Linked DNA regions of Homo sapiens: region 1 is linked to region 2. Evidence: promoter capture Hi-C in human tissues and cell types (Jung and others, 2019). All regions are on one chromosome and are shown on one strand. The core of a region is centred on a gene start or on the middle of the fragment in contact, and the rest is flanking DNA. Distances in the headings are between cores, read along the strand shown. Region 1 has its middle 44 kb from the start of EMP1. Region 2 holds the start of EMP1 (epithelial membrane protein 1).

Region 1 (5,822 bases), core at 84-2,583, 43 kb after region 2:
AATTTCAATGAATTATTTTGTCTCCCAAGTTTTAAACTTACAATGTGTTCTGCCATGACGGTCTAATTCTCAATTAAGATATGCTAATAAGGCTGACCGCATACCATATACTCGCCATGCCTGATAAGCAGTTTAGCTTCTTTTTGGGTTTGGTGGGAGAGCAGTTATGTTTCCACACTGAAGTTTCTCATTGGCTTTCCTCCTACAAAGGCGCAAAATGACCACATGTTGTTCTTACTAATATTTGTTTTAGTCTGACACACTTCGATCTCTGCCGAGTTGACTACTAACTGCTTCGTACACACTTCGTATTCCTCCACCTGCTTTCAGTTACCTTCATTAAAAATATTCACATAAATCTTTATTAATAGAGAAAAATGGATTCACTCTGGTTTATTTATCTGTGGGTAAGTTTAATTATTTTCCAGTATGCAAAGCATCTTAGGAGGCTGCAAACATGGCTCAGAAGTAACATTGCCAGAAAAGGGGAAGCTTGTGCCATAGAGTCAACTTGCTGACCTGCAAGTAACAGACAGTGAATGTTAGCTGAATGATGGTAATTGAGTGAAAATTTGGACTGCCCTTCAAGGGATGTTAGAAAGAGTATCAGAAAAGGGCAGGAAGACTTAACATATATAGTGACCAATTACTGAGCATCCAAGCATAGTGAAAATCACCGTGCATATATTATCACATTTCACAGAAGCAGAACCCATTCTTTTTCATATGCAAATTTCTCCTTAAAAATCTCTGTCCTATGATACTGTGGGAACTCTAGGCTACTTCTCGATGGCTTCTAGGCATCCCCAGGAAGTGCGTATATTCTCCTGAAATCATTGCCAAGGGCTTACTGCAGATTATCCCAGGTTTCTCCTGCTGGGCTCACCTTGCCTCTCCACAGTGCACCACAATTTCTGGTCCGCTCCATCTTAAGATGTCATTGTAGATCTTCCCTTTATTTCCAAAGCCAATGCAATCACAAAGATATGGAGAGTAGCAATGGTTAAGATTATAAGCTTTGCAGTCAAACTTCTTGAGTTCAAATCCAGGCTCTGAATCTTACTAGTTGTATGACCTTAAGTTACTTGTATGACCTCCTGTACCTCAGTTTTTTACTCAGTTTTTTTACCTCAGTGAAATGAGGCTGATAATAATACTTTTTTCCCTGGGTTGCCATGAAGATTAAATAAGTTAACTCATTCTGCGAGTTAATTTTTATGTGAGATTGAGCCCGTGAGAATGAGTGACAGAGAGGTAGAGGGAAAAAAATGGAGGGAGTGAGAGAGGAGAAAGTGGGAAAGACAATGGAAAAGATAAATGAGAATGAATAATGGGAGGTAGAGATAAAGGAAAAGCAATAGAAAGCAGAGAAGTTAATTCATTAAAATACATAGAGCACTTTGAAGAATGCTTGCTATGTTGTAAGTACTTAATAAAGTTCGTTATTAGTGACAGGTTGTAAGGGTTAGGAAATTTTTTACTGAACACATGCATTTCTTAGGTTATAAAAAAGTATAGCTTTGAGGAGAAACAATGTGAAATTGGAAAACAGATTCTGCTGCTGCTAGAATCCATTGGCCAGTCCCTAATGCAGTCTCCCAGGGTTGTCTCCCTCCTTAGTCTCTGCCATCTTGCTGGAGCCATACTCTTCCATAGTCCATGCATTCTTGTCTCCCATTATTCCCCACGTCTTGAATCACAACTCCTAGAGTCTCAAGGAAGCCAAAAACAAGTAAATAGCATGACAGTCTCTGCCCCCAAGGCCTACAACTCTTTCATTTTGCTGTTTAGAAGTCAGAGGTCTTTATGGTATTAATCCCTCCCCCTAGATTGGACACTGAGTCTTACATCTGCATAACCACAAGTCCCACTCAAGTGTTTCACAAATAAAATGACAGTCTTCGCCCCAAAGATGAATTCTCCTGGCATTCCTACGATAAGGATAGGGTTGTAGGGGGGTGGGAACCCCTCCAGAGGCTCAGGATTTGTCATTAGCATTGAACATACTAAAAACATATGCTTTGACTAAGGCAGGCTTGTTCTGAGCCCTTGAAGCATGTTTGGTGTTCTTGATGGCCATCATCTTGAAGAAAAACCTGAGGTGCTTCCAAAAATATTCTAGGCACTAAATTAGTGAAGACGTACACTTTGTGGCAATGAGTCTGCAACTGTTCCTTGAAAACATCTGATGAGGCTGGAAAATAAGGTAAATGATTATATATATATATGCTTCCCCTCGCTACAAAATATACTGCCATAATCATCCTGGCTTGTGTTTCCACCACTTTGCAGAAATAGTTTTTTTTGAAAACTGTCAGTGTTCTCCAAGATGCTGTGTCATGTGGCTTTTCTTAACCCACATCTCCCTTCTTGACTCTTTAGGATGTTTGGGATTATTGAAATTCAGTTTTTATTGGATCTCCTGGTCCTTCAGTCTCCTGATTTTCCTTGAACCTCTGTTGCTCCTTCTTAATATATATATATATATATTTTTTGGCCTTCTCTTCTTTCCCCTTTCCTTCAAGTGTTTTTATGGCCAAGGTTTTGTCCTGGACTTTTTTTCTGTTTCTTACATTTTCTCCTTTAGTAACCTGATTCATTGCTATAGCTTCACATATAATTTCTCTGTAAATGAATCCCAAATTTATATCTCTAGCTTTGACATTTCCCCTGTCCATTTCATCTTTTTTTTTTTTTTTTTTGAGATGGAATCTCGCTCTGTCGCCCAGGCTGGAGTGCAGTGGCATGATCTCGGCTCACTGCGACCTCCACCTCCCAGGTTCATGCCATTCTCCTGCCTCAGCCTCCCGAGTAGCTGGGACTACAGGCGCCCGCCACCACGCCCGGCTAATTTTTTGTGTTTTAGTAGAGACGGGGTTTCACCGTGTTAGCCAGGATGGTCTCGATCTCCTGACCCCGTGATCCACCTGCCTTGGCCTCATCTTTGTTTTTGGATATTCAGCTGAGACTTTAATCTCAAAATCTTTATCTTTAAAATCAATGGCATTTGTTAATGTCTTTTTTTCTTACTAACAATACCACAGTCTTTCACTGACACAGATTTAAAATCTCTAAGCCAATTTTTTTTTAAATCATGATGCACTATAAGAAATGCATTTTACATCATACACACACCCACACACACATATATATACATGTGCAAACACACATGTAAGTGAAACAAAATTTCCCCCAAGAGTACTTACCCTTATTATGTTTGATATACTGTAATCTGTTTTATTCCAATCTATTTCATTCCATTAAAGAATTTGGTTGTAAACCATTAAATTAATTTCATGACCCACTAAAGATACGAATTGCTGTTCCAAAAATACTGCTTTTAAATACTTTTTCATTCATCTTTCTCTTTTAACTCCCAAATCCAATCAGTAGTGAGTTTACTTTCAAAATGTCTTGTATATTCAATCTTTTTCTAAAATTTTCTCTCTGATGCTTTCAAAAGTTTACTTTTATTGGGAGGCCTTCTCCACTTTCTTCAGCTAGAGGCAATTTTACTCCCCTCTAAGTAACTCTATTTATCAGATTGTGTCTCTCTTAAATTACTTAATCACGGAAAATGTCACACCCCATAAATCTGTTTTCTTATCTTACTTTATTTTTTCTTCTTAGGTCTTGTCACTTGACAATTATATTAGTCAGGATTCTCCAGAGAGACAGAACAAATGAGATATTTCTATATTTATATGTGGATGTGGATATAGATGTAGATAGATGAGAGGCGATTTATGAGGGGAATTGGCTCACATGATTTTGGAGGCTGAGAAGTCCCATGACCAGACATCTATAAACCAGAGACCTGAAACACCAGTAGCATGACTCAGTCCAAGTCCAAAGGTCTCAGAACTAGGAAAGCCTGGGTGTAACTCTCAGTCTGAGACTGTAGGTTTGAGAACCTGGGTGATTGCTGGTTTAAGTCCTGGAGTCCCAAGGCTGGAGAGCCTGGAGTTCTCACGTCTAAGGGCAGGAGAAAGGGTGTGTCCCAGCTCCAGGAGGGAGAGTGAGGAAGTCCTTTTCTCTCTGTTTATTTTTTTTCTTGTTCTATCCTCACCCCAGCTGACTGGATGGTGCCTGTCCACATTGACAGCAGATCTTTCCCACTTAGTCCACAGGCTCATACACCAATCTCATCTGGGAAACACCCTCACAGACACACCCAGAAGTAATGCCTTACTGGTTCTCTAGGCATTCCCTAATTCAGTCAAGTTGACACCTAAAATTAGCCAATATTAAGTCTACCCCTTGCCAACTTGGCACTCATATACATCTCCTTAAGCCATACCTGACCTCCAAATAAGGACACTAACAAGGTATTAGTTCCACTTAATGTGGTATAATTATCCTGCATACACTGAAAATGGACTAATCCTGTCCTCAGAAGAGGAAGAAAAGTCCCTGGGTGATGTTTACTCTTCTCTGATATCCTATAATTAAATACTGTGATGTAAAAATTAACAATGCTTAAATATTATGATATAAAGTCAATGTATCTTATGTTACATGATAAAGGAATAAGACAGAAATGAAAACAAAGATATTTGCTTAACCTATGTAAATATACGCAAAAACACATAACAAAATAGGGAGGAAATATTCATGACAATTACAGTCCTTGTTTCTGTAACTGTTCACATGGCCATAGCGGGTATTTATAACCACCATTCAGCAAATACTTGGCTAGCTGTGGTTCTTTACTTGGTAGGGTGACCCAAAACTTCATGCCTGAAGTGTCTGGGCCATTTGTAGTCCTGCCTAAATTGGGTTGTTGTAATTTCCCATTTACCTTAATCACAGGGCATGATAATATTAAGAGATACCCTAAGAGCTCTCCAGATACTCTTTCTTACCCCCATTGTGGAGGAGTAGTCCAATTTCCCCTAGTCTGAATCAATCACCCTAGTCAACACCGTAACTCTCTCCTTAGCCTGTTGACTCAGAGGCACATGGAGCCCAAAGTGGCTGGGTGGCAGTCTTGACTTCCAGTTAAATGCGATCATTATTGTGTCTCCTGCTGGTAGCATTCCTCTTTCTGAAAAAAAATCTCTAGGCGAGCAGAAGATAAAGTCATGGGAACAGGAAACAAAACTTTTGCTAGTGGGTCACTTGGTATAATATTAAGTGGTGCCACTCCTCTTTCCACTTCTTGATTCCTGCCCACGAATCTTGGCTATGGGAGGAACAGCACTATATATTGGACCCTGATTTAGAGCATGTATAGCCATCTGGGGAGACTTGCCCCAGCCCTGCAAAGTACTGTCACCTACCTGGCACTGTAATTACATCCTCAAAAGGGCATTCCACTGTTCTGTCAAGCTAGCTGCTTCAGGATAGTGGAGAACATGGTAAGACCACTGAATTTCATGAGCATTAGCCCACTGCTGTGAAGTGAGTTCCATAATGAGAAGCAGAGCTGTGTATGTCAACCTAAATAATAGAGAGGGAGACTCACTAGAAGAAAATGTTGTTTATTTGAGAAAGGGCATTGCAATAGGAATATGCATACCCTAGTAAATGATGTGCATTTCCAGGGAAGTAAAGGAACATAAATGTTTTTAAAGGAAAAATGAGGAGGATTGCATAATTGTTTTGGGATAAATATCCTTGGCTACAAGAATCAATAACAAGCCAGTTGAGGTTGGCAAGGTAGTTTCTGTACAGATGTTCTCACAGAAGTATTGTTTTGTGTAAGATTGTGTTGGCATTTGTGCAAGTCTGTGGTTTTTGCCGAGTGTTTTGTGATAGTTCTTGTTATCAGGCATTCATGCACAAGAACACTCCTTCTGTGGCCTTTCTCAGCTCTATTT
Region 2 (5,679 bases), core at 499-2,998:
GAACTCTATGAGAAACATGCAGTCTTTTATCACGTCATCAGTTTTCAGTGAGAAAATCCAGACCTTCTTACTTTTACAGAGATAGAATTCAGTTCTCAGGGACTTGTGAAGATGCAGCATCATCAAATCATTGTGTGTGTGTGTGTGTGTGTGTGTTGTGTTTTCCTTATCATCCACCTTAGAAAATATTCTCCACATTCCCATGTTAAAATATTTTTTCCTAAAATCCATCCATCCACATGCCAACATCCTAAAGACAGTAATATAGGTTCATTGCAGAGGATTTGGAAAATACAGAATTGTGACCAGAACAAACTAAACTGCATCCATAATTTTATCATCGAATTTGATCAACATTTTGGTGAATAGCCACCAGTCTGTTTTCTATCTTTTTAGGGAATATAAGTTCCAAGAGGCAGGGATGTCATTCACTTCTGTGACTCAGTGCTCTGAATCAGGCCCAGTGAAGACTGACGTGCAGCCTGTATTGGCAGAATGAATGAATAAATACTACACACGCATATTTTGAATTGAAATAAGTTGTCAGGGTGCAGCAGAGAATAACAGAAATAGAATTGCTTGGATGTGCTGACCTAGATCCAAGCTGCTACTGGTAACGTACTGTATCTCCTTGAATAAGTCACTTCACCTCTCTGGGCCTGAGCTGCTTCTTCAGTAAAATAATCCTTGTAGCTAAGATTTGTTGAGCGCTCACTATGCACACTGCCATGAGCCCCTATATGTGTATTTCTCATCATAGCTCTATGAGTTACATACCTGCCATCTCCATTTTATGCATGAGAAAATAGGCATGGAGAAGTTAAGTGGTTTGCCTAAAGTCACACAGCAAATTTGTGGAGAGCTGGGCTTGAACTCAGGCATCTGGGCTTTTACTCTCTCCAGTGGAATGCCTGGGCTGTGGGATGAGATGACTTCACAGGCCTCTCCCAGCTCCAGAGTTGAGAGAGAGAGAGGAGTGGTGCAGGGAGGTAGTAGGGATGATTATGCTACTGGCCAAGTTCAAGAAAGTCAATTGTAGAACAAGGTCCAGCTGATTATTACAGAGAGCAAAGTTCTTAACTAGAGGACTTCCTCCTGGAATGTGGAGAGTCCACACGGGCACTAGCAGAGCATAATGAAAGACCAGGAATTCTCTGCTGTTCAATCAGTGCTCCATCACTCAGAGGCAGGGCTGCAAGAGCTCCTAGTGTGTCCCCTTCGCCTTCAGGGCCTCCCTGTACAGCCACCCACAGGACAGTGCACCAGGGTCAGGCAGGGAAGTAAATAAAAAAAGGAATCTGATAATTCCTGACAGTGAGCAGCAGCTGATGCTTTTAATGGGGGAGGAAGACTGGGAATCTCGCTTGATGATGACCTAGGACTTCAGTCAGCAGGACACTGGCCCCTTTCCTCCCCCTCCCAGGCTGAAACCTTGTGTTTTGCCTTATGTCCATGGTAACCAAGTCTCCTTTTTGGTGAGGAGGAATGGGCTTCAGTAAACAGATCTATTTGTGTGATCCTGTTACTCATTTGAAGCAATGTCCCTCCTTTTTTCCACTGTGGTCTGTGTGTCTGAGTCAGAGAGAGCCTACAACAGGGTTCTTTGAATTGATGGCTCACTCCCAGCCACTCTTGACTGACTGCCAGCTTAGCAGGGCGTAGCTTACCAACAAATCTTTTTTTTTTTTTTAAAGCCAGACTGATTCATAGAAACTCCTTTAAAACACGGTGAAAAGAAACCGCCCATTACACACCCCAGTACACCAGCAGAGGAAACTTATAACCTCGGGAGGCAGGTCCTTCCCCTCAGTGCGGTCACATACTTCCAGAAGAGCGGACCAGGGCTGCTGCCAGCACCTGCCACTCAGAGCGCCTCTGTCGCTGGGACCCTTCAGGTAGGACAGCTCCCAACGCTGTGGGGACTCTCAGCAAAACTTCTCCTTCCTTTCCACGGCTCTGCTTCTTCTGACCTCATCTTAGTTTTGCTTTTTCTTTTCTTCCTTCGCTATTTTTCTATGATCCTCTAAGAACCAAGTCCTTGAAACTTTTGGCTCAAAGTGGATACAGAGACAACTTTTTCTAGAAAGTTCAGAAAAGTGTATTTTGAGGACGGAGTCTGGGGAAATCAATGGGATGGGGCTAAAATCGTGCCTGGCAGTGACCGGGTTCTTGTTCTAGGATGTGGAGGGAGCAGGGACTTTGAAACAAACTGGGATAGGATCCTGTTTATGGAGGAAACACCACACACCTTGGAAATGACATCGGGAACTGGCCAGATGTTTTTCACCTCCTCCGTTTTGATTCCGATTGCTTCAGGACTTGAACTGTTACTCTGCTCGCTGGTTGTTGGTTGGGATTTTTTGGGTGGTGGTGGATAGATAACTGGTTTTCAGTTTATTTTTGACATTGCTTTTCCTGCCTGTTTGCTTCCCTATTCACTTCTGTTTAAATTTAAGTATTTTTTTTCTCCTCACAGGATGGGAAGAGGGGGATTGGTTTGTTTAAAGAAAACTGTTGGCCGGGCACGGTGGCTCATGCCTGTAATCCTAGCACTTTGGGAGGCTGAGGCGGGCGGATCACCTGAGGTCAGGAGTTCAAGACAAGCCTGGCCAACATGGTGAAACCCTGTCTCTACTAAAATACAAAAAGTAGCCAGGCATGATGGCAGGTGCCTGTAATTCTAGCTACTTGGTAGGCTGAGACGGGAGAATTGCTTGAATCCGGGAGATGGTGGTTGCAGTGAACTGAGATTGCGCCACTACACTCCAGCCTGGGCAGCTGAGTGAGACTCTGTCTCAAAAAGGAAAAAAAAGAAAAAGAAAAAAAATGAAAAAAGAAAACTGTTAGAGAGAGAAAGAGAGGGAGGCAAATGGTGTTTTAAATGAAACGTGGGAGGGGTTCACTTGGTCGAAGCAGGAGCTGATGAGGATTCCAGATGCCTTCTCTTGGCCAGATGTGGAGGGCGGGGGAGGCAAAAGGGAAGCTGGGTTTGGAGAAGAGGGTGGGGCAGGAGAACTTCATCTGTGCCTGTTAAAAATTGTTGAGTGGCTTTGTGCTTTCACCCCAGAAAGAGCTGCCTTTCAGTGCTGAGTGAAAAGATGGCATACCAGAAACGATAAAAGAACTTTTAAAAGAAAGTGGATGTGGAATTTCTTTGCATGGAAGGCAGTGATTGTTTTGAAATGCTTATCTTTTCTCTTGTTCCCGAAATGTGATTGTATAAATGCAAACACTCATGCTAATCATGAAATCTGGAGGAATGAAGAAGGGTGCTTTTTCTTTTTTTTCTTTTTTTCTTTTTTTCGGTTAGCATTTTGGGTGAGTGTCTACCGAGGTGTGGCCCATTTCAACATAGACACTGGTATATTTTTTCCCCAAGTAAACAAGATGAGAATGACAGGATTCAGCTTGTCTGACAAAGTTAGGCTTTTCCTTTAGAAAGGCAGTACGTTGGGAGAGAAGTTACATGTAATCAACCCTGTGTTGAGCAGGCAATGCTCCTTGTAAAACTGCCCCAAGGGGGACGATTGAGTAGGCATCAGGGCAACTTTTCAAGATGAAGGGAACTCCTACATTTGCTTCACATGTTTATTATTTCCACATTACATGGATGTGGATTAGCCATTATTAAATCAATAGTGTTAATATCCTGTGAAAATTATACAAATCTTTTAGTTCTGTGCAGGTTAAAACTAATAACCAGTCAACACACGGAAAGCCCTGACAATGTTGGGAGTGTAAACCATCATGAACTGCATTATTTGTGGCAAGGTTTCACATGATACTGTAGGTTTATAAAGGAGAAAATATGCTACATGTTACTTCCTGGAGTTTGAAGACAATTTAGAAAAATACCGTTCTGATTCCTGCTCTCTGCTCTTCCTCCAAGAAGTAGTGAAAGAGTCCCTTAGCTGTGAGAGTTTTTCTGGATTTCAGCTTTGACAATCCCGAAATGTGAGGGTTATTTTTCCCCCCCACTCTGCCCGCTGCCTCCCACCCTCAGGGGCAGATCCAATTCCACCCAGACTCCGAAGAATGGGGCGGGGGCGGGGGCTGCAGGACATCCTGTCTGGCGCCCTGGTCAGAGGGCCCCCCACATTTACATTGTTTGTGGGTACTAAACTGTCTTGGGAGTTGGCAAAAGGCCATCAAGAACCAACTTGGAGCAAATCACATCCTTAGAATCTGGCTATCTCCCAGGACTGCTGGGCAGACCGCTGGGGAAAGGAAAGAGATCCCTTCTGTGGAGAGTGGAAAGGACTCACTGTGCCTTCCTCAGCCCTTCCTGCTTCCTCCAGAGACCAGATTAGGCCCATCAAGTTCCCAGCCTTGTCAGTGGGCTTCATGGAGACCCCTCACCCGGGAATGTAGACCCTCTTGGCTTGCTCTGGGTGGCTCTAGGGATTTCAGGTAGTGCCAGACCCACAGGGACTACTGGAGAGAGACACGTTGAAGACCGGGGAAAACTTGTGGATGAGGCAAGACTGCTTTTCTGTAGACTCTATGGAGCCTGGTGGGGCACATAACTGAAACGTGGACACAGGAAAGGGCAGGAGGCAAGTCAGTTCCATTTCATCCTTCATTTCGTTCACAGAATTCTAAATTTGGGAGGGATCTTGGATCTCATTCATTCTCCTACTGTATGCAGAAATCTAATTTTTACACCATCTTGAACAGATGGCCATCCTACAGATCTTAAAATTTCCAGATGCGGGGAGCTCAGAACCTCAGTGTGTACCTCCACACTCATTCCCCTTAGCAGGCCAACTCTAATTTTATTAAAGTTCCTTAAATCAAGCAAAATCAACTTCCTTATAACTTCCTGATTCTGCTGGCCTGAAACAACTCAGAAAATATCTATTCTGGTTTTGTTGTTGCTCCACCCAATGATTCTCATCCTCTAAACACTTAACGCCTATTTAATATTTAATGAATACAACTTGATGGATCTACATTGCATTATCTTTTCTTCTTCTTCTTCTTCTTCTTTTTTTTTTTTTTTTTGCCTAAGGCTCAGAAGGGCAGGGAGCATTTTTGAAGTTTGGAATTATGTACATAGTCAATCATACTCACGGGGTTTTTGATTTGGAGGTATTTAATTTTCTAAATGCATGAATATGGTTCCTTCTTTAACCTCCCACATGTATGTACATAGCTGCCTAACACAAAAGCTCAGGCCTATTTGGGACTCTCAGATGTACATACTCGGAGGGACACACCCAGTGTTGCTACCTACTAGGTCATGGTTAGATCAATCCAATACCAGGACACAGGCTTCTAGCTAGGCCTTTTGGGGATTGTCCCATAATTTGGTCCATAGTTCATGTAGCCCACACCTATACATTGTCACCACCCATCATAGTAATTACGGGAACAGGCTGCCCATCAAATGTAGCCTCCTTGTAATTGCTGGCCAGCAATCTGGGTATCAGCCCCTTGAGAAGAGCTCCTAACCCTTAACCAGCGTAGAACGGGAATTTTCTCACCATAAGCTTCCCTTTTCTAATACTCTTCCCAGATCCGCCCAGGTGATCTTGAATTTCTGGACTGCACTTGCTATTCAGTAATCAAGGAAGCCCAAATATGGTTCCAGTTAGGGGTTTACTTGAATCTTCAGCACCCAGCCCCGACATACACACGTCCTGAGACTGCTCTTTGCAACAATTCAGTCCCTGGTGT

What was found. The method cuts DNA at HindIII sites, captures the fragments that hold promoters and counts their contacts. A contact is called where the count stands out against the background at its distance.
Region 1: a contact is called between a fragment that was not itself captured here and the fragment with the promoter of EMP1 in region 2, in 1 of the 25 tissues and cell types used here (neural progenitor cells).

The regions. Positions count from the first base shown.
Region 1 is chr12:13,238,145-13,243,966 of GRCh38, forward strand. No RefSeq gene overlaps it. Among named protein-coding and RNA genes, the nearest start is that of EMP1, 44 kb to the left of the region's middle. The HindIII fragment of the contact is 6,427 bases long and covers 1-4,547 here.
Region 2 is chr12:13,194,978-13,200,656 of GRCh38, forward strand. EMP1 (epithelial membrane protein 1) reads left to right here and starts at 1,749. Exons shown (of 5, transcript NM_001423.3): 1 at 1,749-1,895. RefSeq lists an enhancer at 3,789-4,289. The HindIII fragment of the contact is 16,024 bases long and covers 1-5,679 here.